Regions from separate parts of the Homo sapiens genome. Here region 1 is linked to region 2. Evidence: promoter capture Hi-C in 16 types of primary human blood cells and fetal thymus (Javierre and others, 2016). All regions are on one chromosome and are shown on one strand. The core of a region is centred on a gene start or on the middle of the fragment in contact, and the rest is flanking DNA. Distances in the headings are between cores, read along the strand shown.

Region 1 (3,522 bases), core at 226-2,725, 48 kb before region 2:
AGTAGGACAAACATAAAACATATAAAAAGATGGCATAAATAGATCTACATCTATCAGTGACTACAATAAATGTAAATGGAATAAACTCTCCATTTAAAACACAAAAATGATCAGATGGGATTAAAGAAAAACTCGGCTCCAGCCTGTTAAAAAAAGATGTATTTAAAACCAGGACAATGGGAAGTTTAAGAAAAGAAAGAAAAACTCTACAGCACACAAATGGTAGCCAACAGAAGACTGGTGTGGCTGAAATTAGACAACACAGACTGACTTTAAGGCAAAAAAGCAGTACTAAAGAGGGCCATTACCTCATTGATACAAATTGATAGAATGGGAAGATACGACACTTTTCAACTTGTTTGCACCTAATAACATTACCTCAAAACACTCAAAGCAAAAACTGACAGAGCTCCAAGAAAAAAAACAAATCCACCATCACAGTGGAAGAATACCTCAGTAACTGATAGATCCAGTAGGAGAAAGAAAAACTCATACAGGATGCAAATAATTTTGAACAGCATAATAAAAAAGCTTGATCTTAAGGATTTATGCAGAACTCCAAAACTGGAAAATATACACTATTTTCCAGAACAAAAAGACCTTATGCTAGGCCATAAGCAAGTCTCAGCAATTTGAAAAAACAAAAAAACAAAAACAACACTGGTACCATAGAGGCTATTATTATTGGACCACAACACAATTAAGTTAGAAATCAATAAAAAGCTAATTAGAAAAACGCCATACATTTGGAAATGTAAAACACCCCTGTAAACAACTCACACATGAAATAAATCAACACAAACTAGAAAATACTTATTAGAACTGAATAACAAAAGGACTATAAATCAAAACTAGTGGGATGCAGCTAAAATGGTATCAGTAGGCAATTTATACCCTTAAATTATTACAACAGAAAAGGGAAATTTGTGAGCTAAGTATCCAACAACAGAAAGAGGAAGAACAGAATTAGCCCATGGAAGTGAGTGGCACGAAATACTACAGACAAGAGAAAAGAAAATTAATAAAACATAAAACAAAAATTATAATTGTTAATAAAAGCAAAAGGTAGTTCTTAGAAAAAGACTAATAAAATAACAAACTTCTGGCAAAACTGATCAAGACAAAAAAAAGATAAGGCACAAATTATCACTATTGAAATTAAAAAGGACAATATATCCACACTTCTTATAGACTTAAAAAATATAACTAAAAGATATTATAGGCTGGGCGTGGTGGCTCATGCCTGTAATCCCAGCACTTTGGGAGGCCGAGGCAGGCGGATCACGAGGTTAAGAGATTGAGACCATCCCGGCCAACATGTTAAAACCTTGCCTTTACTAAAAATACAAACATTAGCTGGGCACGGTGGCACACACCTCTAGTCCCAGCTAACTGGGAGGCTGAAGCAGGAGAATCGCTTGAACCCAGGAGGTGGAGGCTGAAGTGAGCCGAGACTGTGCCACTGCACTCCAGCCTGGGAACACCACTAGACTCCATCTCAAAAAAAAAAAAAGATAATATAAATACTTGAGGTTAATACATTTGAAAAATTATATAAAGCAGACATGTCCCTTAAAAAACACAGCTTAGCAAAACTGAAATAGGAAAAAATTTTAAAAACCTAAATAGTCCCAATAATTTTTTTTTTTTTTGAGACAGGGTCTTACTCTGTTACCCAGACTGGAGTGCAGTGGTGCAATCGCAGCTCACCGTATCCTCGACCCTCTAGGCCCATGCCATCCTCCCACCTCAGCCTCTCCAGTAGCTGAGACCACAGGCGTGAGCCACCGTAACTGGCTAATTTTTCTTTTTGCTTGTTTGTTTAGTAGAGACAGGGCCTCCCTATGTTGCCCAGGCTGGTCTTGAACTCCTGGGCACAAATGATCCTTCCATCTTGGCCTCCCAAAGTGCTGAGATTACAGGAACGAGCCACCATGCCTGGCCCCAATAATAATTATTAGTTTTTTGAGACAGAGTCTCACTCTGTCGCCCAGGCTGGAGTGCAGTGGCATGATCTCAGCTCACTGCAACCTCCACCTCCTGGGTTCAAGTGATTCTCCTGCCTCAGCCTCCTGAGTAGCTGGGATTACAGGCGCCAGCCACCATGCCCGGCTAAGTTTTGTATTTTTAGTAGAGACAGGGTTTCACCATGTTGATCAGGCTGGTCTCGAACTCCTGATCTTGTGATCTGCCTGTCTCGGCCTCCTTAAGTGCTGGGATTACAGGTGTGAGCCACTGCGCCCAGCCTCAATAATTATTAAAAATAATCCTTCTAGGAGGGAGACACAGACAGCTACTAAGATACTAGGAACTGTTCTATTTCTTAAGCTAGATAATGGGTACACAGGCCCTCATTTTACTACATATACATTGTATACTTATTTGAATGATATATATATCAATATAAAAATAAGCTTTTTCAGTAGAAGCTGTGGAAATACTCCTTGAATTACAACATGCATCACAAACATCCAACATGCAGACAACGTATGCCCCCAGACAACTGCCCTGCTTCTTGGGGTAGAGAATAGTTAACAGTAACGTCATAAAAATAATCATCATCAATATTCATAGTTTCCTATGTGCTAAGGACCGAGCTAAGAGCTTTACACATATTAATTCACTTAATTTTCACAATAACCCTATATGGTAGTTTCTACCACTCTGACATCATTAGTAAATGGAGAAGTCAATATTTGAATCCAGAGTTTCAATACCTAAGTTCTTTTTTTTTTTTTTTTTTTTTTTTTTTTTGAGACAGAGTCTCGCTCTGTCGCCCAGGCTGGAATGCAGTGGCGCGATCTCGGCTCACTGCAAGCTCCACCTCCAGGGTTCACGCCATTCTCCCGCCTCAGCCTCCTGAGTAGCTGGAACTACAGGCGCCCAGGTAATTTTCTGTATTTTTAGTAGAGACGGGGTTTCACCATGTAAGTCAGGATGGTCTCGATCTCCTGACCTTGTGATCTGCCTGCCTCGGCCTTGAATACCTAAGTTCTTAAACATCCACCTGAGATGGGGCTTCATTTAGAGAAAAAAAGTCCTTGGGCAATCAGATTTCCTTCTTACCAGCTGATAGGAGAAACTCAAAACTCTGTTTCTACAGCAAAGTCCTGTAAGTAGTGGCTATAATCTCAGCTGAGCTCATTAAAAAATGTCACTTAAAATGTCAATACTGAACTTCCAACAGTTCTATTCCATTACTATATTTCTCACTACACATATCATAGTACTATGTACTACTTTAAATTCCAAATAATTGAGTATACTTTTTATGCTGGCTTCCCATAGTCACATAAACCTAAACAGCTCTTTAGTCAATTAGCAGAAGGTGTGTGAAGAAAATTATGAGACATACTATGTAAACCCTAAAATAGTGTGTTGATGGTCTATTCAGGAAAGAAAATGCCCTAACTCTTCTCTGGAACTTAAAACAATTCCAGGTGATCTTGCTTTTTGCTCATGCAGAGAAAGGTAGTTCCCATGGTATTTCTTCAGTTCAAGTGAAATAACCACCACTCCTGA
Region 2 (3,638 bases), core at 204-2,703:
CTAATTAGTATGCTTTAATCATCACTTGTACAGTACATTCCTCTTCAAGAATCCAATTCCAAGAGAAATATTTAAGCAGACGTTGAGGACAGATTTCCTTAAGGGAATTATTTTATAAATCTGGAAAGCAATGTAACGAGATTATAAATTAACAAACTGATTACATAAGCCTTGACAACCCGGGCTTTAAAGTACACTGCTGTATATATTCTGATAAGTTAAAGACTGGTTTGGGACATAGTGCTCCAATCCCATACAAGGAGCCCAAACTCAGGCATTTCATGTTTGATAGGAACTTGGTGGAGATTCAACAGGATGTCCAACACTTGCAAGCCATGCTTCACCTTAAAACCTGACAAAATGTTTAAGGCATTAAGTCAACTTTACCACGGTTCCTAAGACTTTAAGAATGCACATAATTAAAGGGAAGGGGGGTGGAAAGTAACATGACAGTTTGAAAGGTCCCATATCCTCAGACCTCTATAGATTTAGGAACTCCACTGCTAAATTCTCCCCAAAGCCTGAAACTCCCTATGAAACTACTGGACTGTATGCGATCCAACAGTTACAAATAGCACAGCTCCAAGAACCCCGAAGATAAAAGGCTGCCACTTTCCTGCAACCCAAGTCCAAGTAAAAGGCAGGAAGGTCCCTGTAAAATGGACCAGAAAGAAATCAACAGGCGATGACTATGGAAAAGAACGTAGATTTCCCAGTCTCCCAGTCTGCAAAAATTCTAGCTCTCCCTCGGGAATGGCACTGCTCCTCTTTCCTTACCCCTTTGCCCTTTCTCTACAGACAACATCCCCACTCTATTGTAAAGCAGTTTGACCACGGAACCCTTTTGCTGAGGCCGGATTTCTACAGTCTTCTGAAAGGGGAAAACGCATTCAAAGAACACACACCCTACCAAGCGCCCAGGGCGCGGGGCCCCGCGGGCGCCGCACTCGGCCCGCTCCGGGGCGGGGCGCGGGGATGCGGGCGCCTTCCGAGGTGCCGCAATCCCGCCGCGGCCGCAAGGGCAGGGCCTCCAGGCGACCGCGGCCGCCGCCGCAGTGACGGCTCCCGCCGGGCCCCGCCGCCGCCCCGCCGCCAGGCCGCGCCGCGGGGTCCGGGCCACCGCAGCCCGGGCCCCGCGTCCTCCCGGGCCGCGCGCTGCGGCCGGCGCCGAGAGCGCAACTTACTTTCCGCCTGCGGCGAGCGCCCCGGCCCGGGCGCCCAGCCCGGCAACAGCGGAGGCTACTGAGGCGGCGGAGGCCGGCCCCGCACCCCTGCCTACGGCCGCCGCGCCCCGCCGCGCTCCGCGCTCGCCCCTACCTCAGCCGGCAGGCGAGCGTCCGTCCGCAGCGGCCGCGGCGCCGACAACTCCCTCCCGGCCGCCGAAACCCCGCACCCAGCGCTAATCATAATACCGAGCGGGCTGCCGGCCGCGGGGAGGGGGTGCCGGGTAGCTGCGCCTGCGCGGGCTGCGCGTCACTGTGACGTCAGCGCTGGGGCGGGGCCGCGGGAAGGGCAGGGCGGGGCGGCGCGCACCTGCGGCCGGCGCGCGGGCTGCTGGAGGGCATCCTGGCGGCTTTCTGACCCCGGCGAGTCGGGGCTGAGGCGGCTGGCGGGACAAAGCGGGCAAGGCGCCCAAGGAGGATGGAGGACGGGGGAGGAGGAAGCACCAGGGACACGGAACAATGGCCGGGAAAAAGTAGCGCGAGCTGTCAGGGGAAATCGGAGGGAAGGGACCGCGTCTGTACAGGACTGCGTCTTGGCGGCAGGGGGCAGGGAGCCGCACGCGCTTTACTCTTTGGTTCCCGCCCAGGTTTAAACAAGGATAAAAAAATTGTAAAAATACATATACATACACACATGCACATATGTATATACATATATATACATAATATGATTTTTTTCTCTGTAGTTTCTTCTCCCTGGGACTCTAATTTGAAAAAATTCGGTTGATTTTGTTGTTATTTAAGCAAAATTGGAAAAGCCCAACATCTGAATGCAGTGCTGGCCTTAAAGGTCAGCGGGAGACACAGGCCCTGCTAGGCAGCCTCTGGCAACAGCATAGAAAAGTAAACGGTCGTGGGGACACATCAAAGCACGTGAAGTCAGAGATTCAAAACACGCCGGGCATTAACCATAGCCCTTGATGGTTCAGTGGTATGGTCGCCAGGCCAGGTTGCTCTGGAAGGGAGCTTAGGGATGGCCGCAGAGGGTGGGAGGGGACTCCCGACTCCCACCCCTGGAAGCATGGCATGCAATAGAGACCAGCTCTTCAGGGTTCCTGGAAGGGAACACCAACAAACCAGACGCCAGATTTCTTCAACCTGCTTTTCCCCTTCTGTTCCCACGTTGTGTCCACCCTTCCCCAAGAAAGGACCCCTAGCAAGGAAGGACACAAGCCAGAAGAGCTGCGGAGATGCTGCAGGCTTGGTTGAATTGACTGGACTGCGAAGAGAAATCTAGATGGTTTTAGCAAATCTCTGTTGACCTGCAAATGTCAAAAGCCTTTTAGCTTCTATGCATCAACTTTGCATGTCTGAAGATGATTGGGAAGCAGGAGTGGATTGTTGGGAGGTGCAAACAGTTTGATTCTTAGGGTAATAACATAGGGTTTTCTGATCAAGGGGACTCCCAGTTACCCTAATACCCTTGCATCAGGTGGTGGGAGAGCACCAGGGAAAGCCTCAGATTAGGCCTCTGCGCCTTAGGGTCCCACCTGGGATCACTCTGACCTGAAAAGACCATAAAAGAGTCATCTCATTTTGACATGGAAATCGTAACTGTAGCAGCATATTAAGCAAGAGCTCCTAACTTGGATTTGTAGAATTTGTCCTTTTGTTGCTAGAAATCAGGAAGACCATGCACTTTTCTCCTCAGGGAGATATCACTATTCAGGGAACTCTGTAGCCAACTAAAGGGAGAAAATACCACTGTAATGGTCTCCCAAGGGATTTCCAGTGGTCGAAGGCCTCCACCCCTGGGTCTGTAGTCCCTGAGTTATATCAGTAACTACAGAACAATGACGATAATATATAAGCTCTTGAAAAATAAAGTATTTATATTGCTGCTGTTTAACTAGGTTTTGAATAAATTTTCTAAGGAAAACAAGGCATAAAAGAGCAAAACAAATGAAAAAGGGCAAAATAATAAATTGATTTAAATGAAGTTGGCTGCAATACTCTTCTAGAGAAGGACGCAGTACTGGCCACATGGTAAATCATTTATTCATCCCCAGTATTTCTTGGGTAGCTGAAGTGCTGCTGGCAAGAATATGACCCAGTTTTGGTTCCACACCATAAATGTGGTGACATGATTTGATTATGCTTCGGCAATATTTTAAGATATTCAAGTACAAATTAATAGTATTACTTAAGTTGGAATTTAAGCAAATGTGCTTATAGTTAATGAAGAAACTCCTTTTCCACTCTGCCCTGGGGCTTTCTCCAACACACTGCTTTTTTAATGTTGGGTCTTTTTATGGACCTGTAAGAAGCTTTAATTAGATGTACAGCATTCTACAAAACGACAAGATGAAGCATGCTTGCTTGTATTACAGTCTCTGTGATTCAGATCTCAAAAATAACATAATGCCACCAGTTTAAGGAAGATGTTGTTTATTGGAAGGAAACCAGGGAGGTGCC

The links. Contacts are between HindIII fragments. The CHiCAGO score rates a contact against its expected background, and 5 or more counts as called.
Region 1: a contact is called between a fragment that was not itself captured here and the fragment with the promoter of SNRK in region 2, in 5 of 17 cell types (total CD8 T cells, non-activated CD4 T cells, naive CD8 T cells and 2 more). The highest score is 8.8, in total CD8 T cells.

The regions. Positions count from the first base shown.
Region 1 is chr3:43,332,591-43,336,112 of GRCh38, reverse strand. The region is part of intron 4 of SNRK (SNF related kinase); the gene reads right to left. Among named protein-coding and RNA genes, the nearest start is that of SNRK-AS1, 18 kb to the left of the region's middle. The HindIII fragment of the contact is 1,883 bases long and covers 534-2,416 here.
Region 2 is chr3:43,284,355-43,287,992 of GRCh38, reverse strand. It overlaps SNRK (SNF related kinase), which reads right to left and starts at 1,453. Exons shown (of 7, transcript NM_017719.5): 1 at 1,318-1,453. RefSeq lists silencers at 919-968, 1,209-1,608 and an enhancer at 1,213-1,713. The HindIII fragment of the contact is 7,817 bases long and covers 1-3,492 here.